Linked DNA regions of Homo sapiens: all the other regions are linked to region 1. The links are contacts of gene promoters, found by promoter capture Hi-C in blood cells and fetal thymus (Javierre and others, 2016). All regions are on one chromosome and are shown on one strand. Each heading gives the region's core, a stretch centred on a gene start or on the middle of the fragment in contact. The rest is flanking DNA. Distances are from core to core; before and after follow the strand shown. Region 1 holds the start of NCBP2-AS1 (NCBP2 antisense RNA 1). Region 2 overlaps FBXO45 (F-box protein 45). Region 3 has its middle 9.6 kb from the start of SMCO1. Region 4 overlaps WDR53 (WD repeat domain 53). Region 5 has its middle 29 kb from the start of LINC01063.

The links. Contacts are between HindIII fragments. The CHiCAGO score rates a contact against its expected background, and 5 or more counts as called.
Region 2: a fragment that was not itself captured here is called in contact with the fragment with the promoter of NCBP2-AS1 in region 1 in 5 of 17 cell types (neutrophils, naive CD4 T cells, M2 macrophages and 2 more); the score reaches 8.1 in neutrophils.
Region 3: a contact is called between a fragment that was not itself captured here and the fragment with the promoter of NCBP2-AS1 in region 1, in 3 of 17 cell types (endothelial precursors, erythroblasts and megakaryocytes). The highest score is 6.7, in endothelial precursors.
Region 4: a fragment that was not itself captured here is called in contact with the fragment with the promoter of NCBP2-AS1 in region 1 in 5 of 17 cell types (M2 macrophages, neutrophils, naive CD4 T cells and 2 more); the score reaches 6.3 in M2 macrophages.
Region 5: a fragment that was not itself captured here is called in contact with the fragment with the promoter of NCBP2-AS1 in region 1 in 9 of 17 cell types (fetal thymus, naive CD4 T cells, naive B cells and 6 more); the score reaches 10.3 in fetal thymus.

Annotation. Positions count from the first base shown.
Region 1 is chr3:196,938,494-196,941,207 of GRCh38, forward strand. It overlaps NCBP2-AS1 (NCBP2 antisense RNA 1), which reads left to right and starts at 1,384. Exons shown (of 3, transcript NR_046630.1): 1 at 1,384-1,634; 2 at 2,481-2,649. It overlaps NCBP2 (nuclear cap binding protein subunit 2), which reads right to left. Exons shown (of 4, transcript NM_007362.5): 2 at 758-939. The HindIII fragment of the contact is 10,665 bases long and covers 1-2,714 here.
Region 2 is chr3:196,576,547-196,579,246 of GRCh38, forward strand. It overlaps FBXO45 (F-box protein 45), which reads left to right. Exons shown (of 3, transcript NM_001105573.2): 2 at 907-1,263. Among named protein-coding and RNA genes, the nearest start is that of FBXO45, 9.2 kb to the left of the region's middle. The HindIII fragment of the contact is 1,674 bases long and covers 479-2,152 here.
Region 3 is chr3:196,523,617-196,526,316 of GRCh38, forward strand. No RefSeq gene overlaps it. Among named protein-coding and RNA genes, the nearest start is that of SMCO1, 9.6 kb to the left of the region's middle. The HindIII fragment of the contact is 949 bases long and covers 927-1,875 here.
Region 4 is chr3:196,558,151-196,560,850 of GRCh38, forward strand. All of the region lies in intron 3 of WDR53 (WD repeat domain 53), which reads right to left. Among named protein-coding and RNA genes, the nearest start is that of WDR53, 9.1 kb to the right of the region's middle. The HindIII fragment of the contact is 8,026 bases long and covers 1-2,700 here.
Region 5 is chr3:196,602,409-196,605,208 of GRCh38, forward strand. No RefSeq gene overlaps it. Among named protein-coding and RNA genes, the nearest start is that of LINC01063, 29 kb to the right of the region's middle. The HindIII fragment of the contact is 2,060 bases long and covers 301-2,360 here.

The DNA of each region.
Region 1 (2,714 bases), core at 134-2,633:
ATAGGATAAATCCAAGAGGTCCAATACTTAAAAGAGTCTGAGTAAGGGAATTAAATGATCAAAGTAAATAGTTTTGGTTTGTACCTATACAGTCAGGTTATATACATCTATATAATGAAATACTATACAGCTATTTACTTAAAAGTTTTTTTCTTTAAAGATGGGGTCTTAACCCGTCACCCCCGCTGGAACACAGTCACAACTCAGTGCAGCCTTGAAATCTTGGGCTCAACTGATCCTCCTGCCTCAGCTTCCTGAGCAGCTGGCACTACAAACACCAGCCACCATGCCCAGCTGTACAGCTATTTTAAAAAAAGACCTACATATGCTGAAATGGAACAATAAAAAATAAAAAAATGATTTTAAAAACAGCACATGAAATACACTACCGCACACCCACAGGGTTACTTCTTGAAAGACGCCCAAGAAACTGGTAACTGACTGCCTCTGGCAAAGGGCATTAGGGGTTTAGAACAGTACGAGATTTTTATATTTTCACTACATTCTTTGGAATTTTTTTTTTTTTACGTGAAGGGCAAACATTCTTGAAAAACTTTTTGTTAAAGAACCATAAAGCATGGATTTCAGAAGAGAATATAAATAGTATCAGCTTTACAGTATAAGGGCAGAGACACACTGGGTGGAAAGTAGGAGGGAGATGAAGGAAAACGTAGGGACGAGTGCAGGGACGCTTATGAGCTACCACTCTCAGCTCTACCCTGGTTCAGCAGCTACATTAGATCCATGGGAAGGATACTCCACAAAACAGAATCCACATGCTGTTTTCTTCATTTTATCCAGACCCATAATGATTTTCTTTATGTCACCACTTTTGCTGAAGAGTTCATAGATTTGTTCTTCAGTTGTGTAAAAAGAAAGATTTCCAACATATAACGTACAGCTTTTCTTCAGTAATTTTTCTTGTTCTTCATTGTCACCCTAGAATTTCAAATAGAGACAAAAGTTAAGCAACTTCAGAGCCTTGCTTAAATAGTATTTCTAAGTACGGTAGAGACATTCATTAATTCTGGTTTGGAAATCAACTTCTCTCATCCCAGCCTACCAGAAATCCCTTGCCCAAAAAGGGGGATGTCGACCTTCTGTGAAGCACTTATGCGAAGTCCAGACTCTTAGTAGAGACAGGGCTCAAAAGTTATACCACATACAACAAAGTCACTTCTACGCCCGACTGCCACGCAAGCGGCTTCCCTTTTCCCTGCACACACCATATCCTCAGCAGTGCATCCTTTAAACCCAAGTGTAGACTCTGGACCTTGACCCAATATATGACAAAGGGCCCTTTTATCCTTCGTAGTGAAAAATAAGTGGGTTTTCAGAGAGAGAGAGAGTTCCTCTTTAATAACCCCCTAGAGACTGTTGAAAGCCACAACCTTGATGCTTTACGTGCTCATAGATCTTTCTCTGAGTTTAGGGGAAAATGTAGTGATCACTAAAAACAAAACAGAGCTCACTTTCTTAATGGGCTTCCAAATTGGGATGACAGGATGAAGCCAGAGACTTAAGCATATAACTGGGCTTCATCCAACACACCTGACAGACAAAGCCCTGGGTCCAAAATGGCTCATCGGGGTCAGGCGCGGTGGCTCATGCCTGTAATCCCAGCACTTTGGGAGGCTGAGGCGAGTGGATCGCCTGAGGTCAAGAGTTTGAGACCAGCCTGGCTAACATAGTGAATGAAACCCTGTCTCTACTAAAAATACAAAAATTAGCTGGGCATGGTAGCAGCGGGCGCCTGTAATCCCAGCTACTCGGGAGGCTGAAGCAGGAGAATCGCTTGAACCTGGGAGGTGGAGGTTGCAGGGAGCTGAGATTGCACCACTGCACTTGAGCCTGGACAACAAGAGTGAAACTCTATCTCAAAAAAAAAAAGTCCACAGGACAATAGTCATTGTATGTTAAAAAGAGGTTTTCGGAACTTTGGAGTGAGACATTAGAGAAAGTAAATTCCTTTCATTTTACTGCTGTTACTGATTTGTGAACATGGAAAGGAGGCATCTTCTTTTTCTACTTTTCTCACACATGTAAGTAAGATCCAAATAAATAGCCTACAGTTTAAGATAACTGTGGTGTAAGTGCTTAAAGTATATTAATATGGATTCCATTCACAGAATGCTAGAAATTCCACATGACAGTATGGCATTAGCATCTAAAAAAAGCTACAGGTTTAGACTGAGGAGATGAATAATAGACAAAGTCAGAAGGTTCCAGTTTTCATCTCACAGGATGCTTTAAGTTCAAAATGGTCAGGATGTGGAACTGTCTAAAGTAGTAACTAAAAGTGGTAGAAGTGCAAATCATGCCTGGCACTTAGGCATCCCAGCACTTTGGGAAGCCCCAGGCAGGTGGATCGCTTGAGTCCCAGAGTTCGAGACTGGCCTGAGCAACACAGGGAGACCCTGTCTCTACAAAAAATTAGCTGGATGTGGTGGCGCGAGCCTGTGGTCCCAGCTTCTCAGGAGGCTGAGGTGGGTAGGATCACTTAGGCTCAGGAGGTTGAGGCTGCGTGAGCCGTGATTGCGCCACTGCACTTCAGCCTAGGCAATAAAGCGAGACTCTGTCTCAAAAAATAAAATACATTAACTGAATAAATTTTTTTTTTTTGAGAAGGAATATCGCTCTGTTGCCCAGGCTGGAGTGCAGTGGCGCGATCTCACAGCAACCTCCACCTCCCCGGTTCAAGCGATTCTCCTGCC
Region 2 (2,700 bases), core at 66-2,565, 360 kb before region 1:
AAAAAAAATTTAAAATACACAAACTAAAAGTTTAAAATTGTTTATGAGAAATTGTTATTGTTTGTATAGAAGAGCTATTTTCATACCCTCTTTATTTTGGAAGTGTAAACCTTTGTATTTACTGAAGAGTCAACTAACTTGTCTTATTGATAGCTTCTCTTCATAAATTCTAGTAGTTGAACCTAGATGCTATCTAAGGGATTATTTGATTTGGTAAAATGAGATTGGTGATTTTTTTATTGTGTAAGTCATATCCAGCAAGTAGGCTGAGGATCTAAGGTAGTTTGTGTTTACTAAAATTTTTCATAAACTTTAGAGCTGCTAGGATTAAAGTTTCTGTTTTATGTAAAATATAATTCTTTTTGATGACAGCATTGCCCATATGAAAACTGTACATCTCAACTTTTTGGTATAAAAATATCAAATATAAACAAAAGTAGAGAAAATAGTTTGATGAACTTCCTTATACCCATCACCAAGCTTTGCCAATGATTAATTTATGGCCAGTCTAGTTTCATGTTTCTATTGCACACTCTCCCACTCCATCTCTGGATATTTCAAAGCAATTCCCAGATACCATTATTTTATCCATAAACGTTTCAGTATTATCTGTAAGATATAAGGATTTTTCTTTTTTGTATCTTTTGATGTTTTAAGAAGTCTGTTTGAGGAAATACTACAATTTAAAATTTTGGTCAGTGATGAAACGGTTGGCATTTATTTTTTAATGTTATTTATTCTGTTAGTATTCCATCCTGAAACTTCAGCCATTATTTGGAAATACTTGTGTTATTTTAAAATATATAACTTCGTTATTTAAAAACATACAGCGTGAAGTTTGGGTAATTTTTAATATTTAAGAAAAATAAAATTGTTATTTATTTGGTCTGTTTTTCATCTTTTTAGATACGTGCTTTTCAACATGCCTTCAGCACTAATGACTGCTCCAGGAATGTCTACATTAAGAAGAATGGCTTTACTTTACATCGAAACCCCATTGCTCAGAGCACTGATGGTGCAAGGACCAAGATTGGTTTCAGTGAGGGCCGCCATGCATGGGAAGTGTGGTGGGAGGGCCCTCTGGGCACTGTGGCAGTGATTGGAATTGCCACAAAACGGGCCCCCATGCAGTGCCAAGGTTATGTGGCATTGCTGGGCAGTGATGACCAGAGCTGGGGCTGGAATCTGGTGGACAATAATCTACTACATAATGGAGAAGTCAATGGCAGTTTTCCACAGTGCAACAACGCACCAAAATATCAGGTGAGAAACTGGGGTTTTTCTCAAGTATGGGCCTTTGTCAAATCACGCCTTAATTTGTTTTAAATTTACAAATTTTTATATAGCAGTTTTTGTCTTTTTGGTAATTTTTATTTTTATTATTTTTTTATTTTTTCAGATACCCAGACTTCAAGGAGATTTTTTTTTTTTAATGTTAGGGGGTTATAGTTAATTTTGTTGGGTGTTATATTTTGATTTTGGCTATGCAGAAAAATATTCTTTTTTTTTTTTTAGACAGAATCTCACTCCGTTGCCCAGGCTAGAGTGCAGTGGCGCCAACTCGGCTCACTGCAACCTGCACCTCCCAGGTTCAAGCAATTCTCTGCCTCAGCCTCAGTAGTTGGGATTACAGGCGCCCACCACCATGCCTGGCTAATTTTTGTATTTTTAGTAGAGACAGGGTTTCACCATCTTGGCCAGGCTGGTCTTGAACTCCTAACCTCGTGATTCACCTGCCTTGGCCTCCCAAAGTGCTGGGATTACAGGCGTGAGCCACCATGCCCAGCCTCAAGGAGATTTTTTGACCATTTTTAAATAAATGTATAAATGATCTATCTCAATATTTGTTTCCTAATACAACTTTAAGCAGCCTATTTTTGCTCCAGATCAGGGGTTGGCAAACTTTTTGTAAGGGCCACGTAGTAAATCTTTAAGTCTTTGCAGTCCATATGGTCTCTGTCACAACTTTTTTTTTTTAATGTCATTTTCAAGGTAAGGATCTATCACGAGTTTCAACTCTATTTATAGTACAAAAGCAGTCATCGATAATACGTAAATGAACGAACATGGCTGTATTCCATAGACCTTATTTATGGGCTGCAGGACAGATTTGGTCCAGGGGCTGTAGTTTGCCAGTTCATGCTCTATATCAAGCTTGTCCAACCCACAGCCTGCATGCAGCCCAAGATGGCTTTGATTGTGACCCAATGCAAATTCATAAACTTTCTTAAAACATTATGAGATTTTTTTGCAATTTTTTTTTTTAAAGCTGATTAGCTATCTTTAGTGTTAGTGTATTTTATGTGTGGCCCAAAACAATTCTTCCAGTGTGGCCCAGGGAAGCCAAAGGATTGAATACCCCTGCTCTAGATGGTCATCTTTCCTGTATCACGGCACATCCAAATCTTTTTCTAGGCTCCTTACCCCAGTAAATACAGCTCTGTGCATGCACATGTTTGTGGATTCAAAGCCCCTGGAGGCATCAGTGAGTTCTGCAGAGACAGGCAAATTCAGGCAAACTGCTGTATTTTTTATTCTTTTCATCTTAGGCTTAAGGCATACTCATTTGACTCAAGTTAAAATTATAGTTCCTATTTGTAAAAGCCGTATTTATTACTACAGACTTAACAGGGTGTAATATACAATAATCTGATAAGAAATTGGAAGTCTTTAAAGAACTATAGATTGCATATTTCAGAG
Region 3 (2,700 bases), core at 151-2,650, 410 kb before region 1:
AAGATCCCTCCAGCCAGACCACCCAGTTAACATGGACGTTGCTGCCTCAGGGATTTTGAGATAGGCCTCATCTGTTTGGACAGGCACTGTCAAAAGATGTCTCTGAGTGTTCCCATCCTCAAATTAGGGTCTTGCAGTACGTTGATGATACTCTGCTCTGTGCCCCAACTAAGGAAGCTCCTCAGGAAGGCACTGAAGCTCTTCTTAACTTCTTAGCTAACAGAGGATATAAGGATTCAAAACCCAAGGCCCAGCTTTGCAAAACCTCGGTGAAGTACCTGGGTTTAGTGCTGTCCAAGGGAACTGGAGCATTAGGGGAAGAAATGATTCAGCCTATTTCTTCCTCCCTTCTCCCTAAAACCTCAAGCAACTAAGAGGATTTGGGGACATTACAGGATTTTGTAGACTATGGATACCTGGGTATTGTGAAATAGTCCACCTGTTATATAACCTCATAAAAGAAGCTCAGGGAGCTAAAACTCATCTTTATTTTATTTTATTTTTTTAGATGGAGTCTAGCTCTGTCACCAGGCTGTAGTGCAGTGGTGCAACCTCCACCTCCCGGGTTCAAGCAATTCTCCTGCTTCAGCCTCCGAGTAGCTGGGATTACAGGCATGCGCCACCACGCCCAGCTAATTTTTGTATTTTTAGTAGAGACGGGGTTTCACCATGTTGGCCAGGATGGTCTCGATCTCCTGACCCCGTGATCTGCCCACCTCGACCTCCCAAAATGCTGGGATTACAGGCGTGAGCCACCACGCCCGGCCTAAAACTCATCTTTTAATCTGGGAACCTGAAGCTTGAAAGGCCTTTGACCAGCTAAAACGAGCCTTGCTTAAGGCACTAGCTCTCAGCCTTCCTGTAGGGAAGACTTTCCATCTGTACGTATCAGAAAGGAAGGGAATGGCCCTGGGAGTTTTAACGTAAGCTTGACGAGCAGCTCAACAGCCAGTGGGTTACCTAAGTAGGGAACTTGATTTGGTGGCTAAAGGATGGCCAGCATGCCTTTGAGCCATTGCCTCAGTAGCCCTACTGGTCCCAGAAGCCCCCAAATTAACCCTGGGAAATGATTTAACTGTTTACACCCCACATAACATGGCAGGACTACTGTACTCTAGGGGGAGCCTTTGGCTAACAAACAGTCGACTCCTTAACTATCAGGCCCTGCTGTTAGAGGGTTCCAACATCCAATTAAAAACTTGTGCAGTGGCTCACGCCTGTAATCCCAGCACTTTAGGGGGCCGAGGTGGGTGGATCATGAGGTCAGGAGTTCAAGATCAGCCTGGCCAACATAGTGAAACCCCATCTCTACTAAATACATAAAAATTAGCCAGGCATGGTGGTGGTGCATGCCTGTAGTCCCAGCTACTCGGGAGGCTGAGGCAGGAAAATCACTTGAACCCAGGAGGTGGAGGTTGCATTGAGCTGAGATTGTGCCACTGCACTCCAGCCTGGCGACAGAGTGAGACTCCGTCTCAAAAAAAACAAAAACAAAACCAAAAACAAAAAAATTGTTCTCGCCTAAATCCAGCCACTTTCCTCCCCAAGGAAACTAGGGAACCTGAACATGACTGTGAACAAGTCCTGATACAGACCTATGCAGCCAGGGAAGATCTCAGGGAAACCGCTAGAGAACCCACACTGGACCCTCTTCACAGATGGGAGCTCTTTTGTAGAACAAGGAATCCATAAGGCAGGATATGCAGTAGTCACTCTAAATGACGTCATTGAAAGTGTGTCTCTCCGTCCAAGCACTCAATTAGCTGAGCTGATAGCTCTTACTCGAGCACTAGAATTAAGCAAAGGAAAGGTAGCTAACATTTGCACTGACTCCAAGTATGCTTTCTTGGTTCTTCATGCTCATGCTGCCATCTAAGCTTTCTTTTAAATATTTTCAGTATGTCCAAGAGAAAACACCTGCTTCCGTTTATTTAGCGGTAATAACCTATATGGACTTAAAAATTTTTTTTGTACAGATGAGGTTTCACCATGTTGCCCAGGCTGGTCTTCAGACTCCCAAAGTGCTGCGATTACAGGCGTGAGCCACTGCACCCGGCCAACATTTTCTTTTTTAGAAACAGGGTCTCACTCTGTTGCCCAGGCTGGAGTGCAGTGGCATGATCACGGCATACTGCAGCCTCGACCTCGTGGGCTCAAGTGATTCTCCTTCCTTAGCCTCCCAAGTAGCTGGGACTACAGGTATGCACCACCACGCCCAGCTAATTTTTTTTTGTTTTAATTTTTATGTACAGACAGGCATCTTACTATGTTGTCCTGGCTGGTCTCCAATTCCTGGGCTCAAGTGATTCACCCGCCTTGGCCTCCCAAAGTGTTGGGATTACAGACATGAGCCACCACACCTGGGTTATTGTTGGATTTACTGAAGAAAAGGGGCAGGAGAAAAAAGTTAAATTACGACAAATCTCTAGGTCAATTAGAAGCCATATCTCTGGGATATTTTAAAAAATCAGTCTTACCGCTTCCGACTCTAAAAGTTAATGCCATTAGTAACAACAGCAGGAAAAATAAACCTGATAAAAACCAGCCCATTCATTTTAGCAAAAAAGCAGTTTAACTCAAAATACTTAGACCAAAGTATAACACTACGTACCCAAGGTGCCCCACCCACCAGCAAGAAGAGAAGAAATAATTGCTTTAAAAATCAAAATATGCGGCCAGGCGCCGTGGCTCACCCCTGTA
Region 4 (2,700 bases), core at 160-2,659, 380 kb before region 1:
GTGTCTTAAAGAACCACACTTTGCTTTTAGGGTCCCTGCCTCTTTGAATGCGCTTTGCCTATTTTATTTTTTTGAGACAGGGTCTCACTTTGTCATCCAGGCTGGAGTGCAGTGGCGAGATCATGGCTCACTACAACCTCCACCTCCCTGGGCTCAGGTGATCCTCCCACGTCAACTTCCTAAGTAGCTGGGACCACAGGTGGATGCTAGCACACCTGGCTAATTTTCGTATTTTCGGTAGAGATAGGGTTTTGCCATGTTGTCCAGGCTGGTCTCGAACTCCTGGGCTCAAGTGATCTGCCTGCCTTGGCCTCCCAAAGTGCTGGGATCCCAGGCATGAGCCCTCAGGCACATAAGCTACCACACCTGGCCCTGCCTAATTATTTAAACCTAAGTCAAAAGACATAACTTTATAATTACTGTTACATAAGAAAAAAGATAGGTATGCTGAACATGGCAATCATTCAATTCCTGCCTTGAGATAAAATTTGTTTGCTCAGAGAGAAGTAACTCAAAATAGTCAGAACTCCCTTCCACTATTACTGTGCCTACATTCTTGGGCTCCCCCATAGACTGGCTATCCTTAAAGTTTAGGATAATACTGGATCAACAGGTTTTAGGAAGACAACTGTGGAAATAATTATAGAGTTTCAACTTCAGTTAAGGAAGTCATTTCTTAAAAGCATGGTTGTATGGCTGTTACATCACAACCCAGTGTAGAAACAAATCTACCATGAACCTTTAGCAATTTTACCAGGCAAATCAAAATAAGAAATTACCTGAGCCTCCCTTTTTCAAAATACTTGTTTCCAGGGCTGTTCACTAGCAAGTGCCTGCCACTAAAACGTCTTACCTGGAACTGGGGGCAAGACAGTAAATTCTGAATGCCCATTCCTCATCTAATCTGAAAAGTACACATCACTTTTGCGTACCCAATTGTCTATTGCCATGCCTAGTGGTTAATGAACCACTGATGGAAAAGTGGTACAGCTGAAGGATGACAGAATGACTACTCAAAGACACACTGTACAATCTGCCTACTTAAAACATATCCATCTGGTTGTATAGGTCTTTCTTTACAACCACAAGGGCAGATTATCACCACTAGGGTGGAGAATGTAGGAGATTTATAAAGGGCTTGGTCAAAACCTAGGAGTGGAAAAGGAAGATAGAGGTTGTAGGGTCACTATGCCCCATACATGTAGAGTGAGTCTCAACCCAGGCACTACAGATGTTTTTGGGGAGACAATTCTTTATTGTTTGGAGACTATCCCAGCACTGCAGGACACCCACTGATTCTGCCTACTGAATACTGGTAGCTTGCAGGAGAGGGGAACAGCATGGTGACAACAAAAACAGTCTCATCATTCTTCAGTTATGAGGGGTATGCAGGGTTGGGGAGGGAAAGGTAAAGACCACTAGCCAAGAGGGTGGAAGTCATAACTGATGCTATTAAAAAGAACATGGAATCTTAGAAGATACTGTATGTAACTGAGAACAGAGATTAAATGCCTGAACAGTGCTGGACACATCGGTCATTCACAATGGTTCTCTCTCTAGAAGCCACCTGACCCCAAACCAAGAAACTTTTCTGTGACATTATTGATGATACTCTGCTTGAATACCTGTCATCTTAGAGAAAAAACATAGCCTTTGGAGCCAGAGAGATTGAGGTTTGAATCTCAGTCAGGTGGCAATGTAGATACTTCATGTGAATTTCAGTTTCTTTATTTATTAAAAAAAATAACTAGGAGGGTGTGATTAGAATTAAAACTAATATACACAAAGCATTGGCAAGAACTAAGTGCTCAACAGACAGAAATCATGACGACTCACTCCAGTGATGAGATTTACTCTCTCAAGAGGAAGCACATCCTGCCATGGGAACGTTCAAGCTATTTGAAAACGTTTACATTAAGCCCAAATCTGCTTTCCCATGACTTCTCTTATGAAGACCAGCACATTCCATTTTTTCCCCTCATGAAAACTAAGAATTAAACACCTCCAGTTCTCTACATAATGGGTTTCTAGATACATCTACTCTCCTGATGGACTTCCTCTGTATTTGGGCAATTTGTGATGCTCCTTTCTTTTTTCTTTTTTTTTTTTTGAGACAGAGTCTCACTCTGTTGCCTAGGCAGGAGTGCAGTGGCATGATCTCGGCTCACTGCAACCTCCACCTCCTGGGTCAAGCGATTCTGCTGCCTCAGCCTCCCAAGTAGCTGGGATTGCAGGAGCCCACCACCACGCCTGGCTAATTTTTGTATTTCTAGTAGAGACAGGGTTTCACCACGTTGGCCAGGCTGGTCTTGATGACCTCAAGTGATCTGCCCACCTCGGCCTTCCAAAGTGCTGGGATTACAGGCGTGAGCCACCGTGCCCAGCCGTGATGCTCCTTTCAAAACTCAGCATTGAATACAGTGCTCTGATCCTGATCACCAATACACACTATTTCAGTTAATGTACCCCAGAACTTTAAAGTAAAAACAGACCCCTCTAACTTTTTGTTTAAACAGAGTTTACAGAGAGTGGGTGGACCAACTCTGCCTTTAGTACTCACTGTTTGTTTAAACAGATGTTTACAATCAAATATTTGCATTTTCAGGTTTTAGGAGTATCTTACAGTATAGAGAAAGGAAAAGTAAAGGATTAATGATTACTTTGTGAATAAATTCTATTAGGTTTTATCAGACTAGCATT
Region 5 (2,800 bases), core at 81-2,580, 340 kb before region 1:
GCAGTGGCACGATCTCAGCTCACTCTAACCTCCGCCTCCCAGGTTCAAAAGATTTTTGTGCCTCAGCCTCCTGAGTAGCTGGGATTATAGGCGTGCACCATCAAGCCTGGCTAATTTTTCTATTTTTAGGAGAGACGAGGTTTCACCATGTTGGTCAGGCTGGTCTCGAACTCCTGACCTCATGATCCCCCTGCCTCGGCCTCCCAAAGTGCTAGGATTACAGGTGTGAGCCACCACGCCTAGCCAAAACTTTATTCCTTTTAGCAATTTGTAGAATGTATAGCAATTTAATTTTTACCAAGCTTTCCCAATATTCCATTTATTTATTTATGTTTTCATTTCAGGCAATGTTTATGTCCCAAATGTCAAAAAACATTTTAAGGTTGGTTTTTCTCTTCCAACCATGTTTTTCTGGTTTTAAAAGTAATCTTTATTTTTAATTAATTTATTAATTAAATTAATATAAATTAATGTGATAGAAATTAGGATAATTTAATTACTCTTAGTTAATATGTGCATTATAAGAAACCGAAAAACACAAGAAGCAGAGAACAAGGCCGTCCACAATCACGAGCAGTTTGCAGTTGACCGTGTCCTTCCAGGTCCCGTGTATGTACAGACACAACACCCAGTGGATCGTGCTTTGTCACACAACATTCTGCCCAATTTTAAATCCGTTTTGCTGCCTCCTTGAGATTCTGTGACTCTAGTGGCTTGGTTCCCACAGGTATCTCCCTTTGCAAATCTATGCTTGAAGGTTTCTCTGTCATGCTAAGTCAGTGACTATTATTTTTCAATTCTGACATCTTTGAAATATGCAGAAGAGACCAGGCGCGGTGCTCACGCCTGTAATCCCAGCACTTTGGGAGGCCGAGGTGGGCGGATCACGAGCTCAGGAGATCGAGACCATCCTGGCTAACACGGTGAAACCCCGTCTCTACTAAAAGTACAAAAAAATTAGCCGGGCGTGGTGGCGGGCGCCTGTACTCCCAGCTACTAGGGAGGCTGAGGCAGGAGAACGGGGTGAACCCGGGAGGCGGAGCTTGCAGTGAGCCGAGATCGCGCCACTGAACTCCAGCCTGGGTGACTGAGAGAGACTCTGTCTCAAAAAAAAAAAAAAAAAAAAAAAAGAAATATGCAGAAGAGTAAAGAGAATAACAACAAACACCCATCTGCTCAATGTTCAGCTTTAGCAAATCTTAACCTTTTGCCAAATTTGCTTCAGATATTTTTTTCTCAGAAACGAAATATTACAGATACAGTTGAAGCCTCTTATACATCTATGCCTGTGATTTGACTCCTTTCCCTCTCTCTCCAGAACTTGACACGTGTCATTGCTGTGTTTGTTTTCATGCTTTTCTGTAGTGTGATGGGTCCCCAGCCAAGTTACTAAAGAGTGTGTGTCTGCTGCCTGAACCCTGAAGGCCAGGCCATGAGCCAAGGCCACAGTGCCCAGCAGAGGAGCAGGTGTCCCTCAGAACCAAGCGTCCCGGAGGGTTTCTAAGAAACTACCAAGAAAAACAGTCCATCACTCACACAGTGGGCAAAGAGCCAGAAAATTAGCTTAAAGGCAGCTCAAGAGTGTGGCCGGGCACGGCTCATGCCTGTAATCCCAGCACTCTGGGAGGTCAAGGTGGGTGGTTCACGAGGTCAAGAGATCGAGACCAGCCTGGCCAACATGGTGAAACCCCATCTCTACTAAAAATACAAAAATTAGCTGGGCGTGGTGGCATGAGCCTGTAGTCCCAGCAACTCAGAAGGCTGAGGCAGGAGAATCACTTGAATCCAGGAGGCGGAGGTTGCAGCGAGCCAAGATCACGCCACTGCACTCCAGCCTGGAGACAGAGCAAGACTCCGTCTCAAAAAAAAAAAAAAAAGAGTGGGAAAATGGGAGGCAATGCAGGTCTCTAAAGCTGTCCTGCTACTGCCCAGGAGGCCTTGTATGTAGGTCCAAATAAACTCATCTACTTGCCAAGCTGGACGTGTCTCAGTCATTCTTTGGTCTCTCAGCCTCCTCCTAGTTTGGGAAAAGGTTTTTTGTTTGTTTGTATTTTTTTAATACAATTCCAGGTTTTCTTTGTTATGTTTCTACATATCCATTGATCTATAAAGAAGGCTTAGCATTTTTTGCATATTTCTAAACCATATACAGGATATATACACATGCGTGTGTGCCACGAACCGTTTATGTCCTCCTGCAACTTCGTGTTCTTGTGATTTATCCATTCCTAAACATAGAACTGTTACTTCTTTTTTAATTGCTGTACAGCAGAGGTCCCCAAACCCCAGCACAGGTGCACAGCCTGTTAGGAAACTGCGTCACACGGCAGGAGGGGAGCAGCAGGCGGGTGAGCAAGTGAAGCTTCATCTGTATTGACAGCCGCTCCCCATCACTCGCATTACTGCTTGAGCTCCGCCTCCTGTCCGATCAGCGCCGGCACTAGATACTCATAGCTATGTGAACCCTATTGTGAACTGAGCATATGAGGGATCTAGGCTGCATGCTCCCTATGAGAATCTAATGCCTGATGATCCATCAGTGTTTCCCATCATCCCCAGATGGAACCGTCTAGTTGCAGGAAAACAAGTGCAGGGCTCCACTGATTCTACATTATGCTGAGTTGTATAATTATTTCATTATATCTTACAACGTAATAATAATAGAAATAAAGTGCACAATAAATGTGATGCACTTGAATCATCCCAAACCATCCCCCACCCCCAGTCCATGAAAAAATGGTCTTCCAGGAAACGGGTCCCTAGTGCCAGAAAGGTTGGGGACCGCTGCCGTACAGTATTC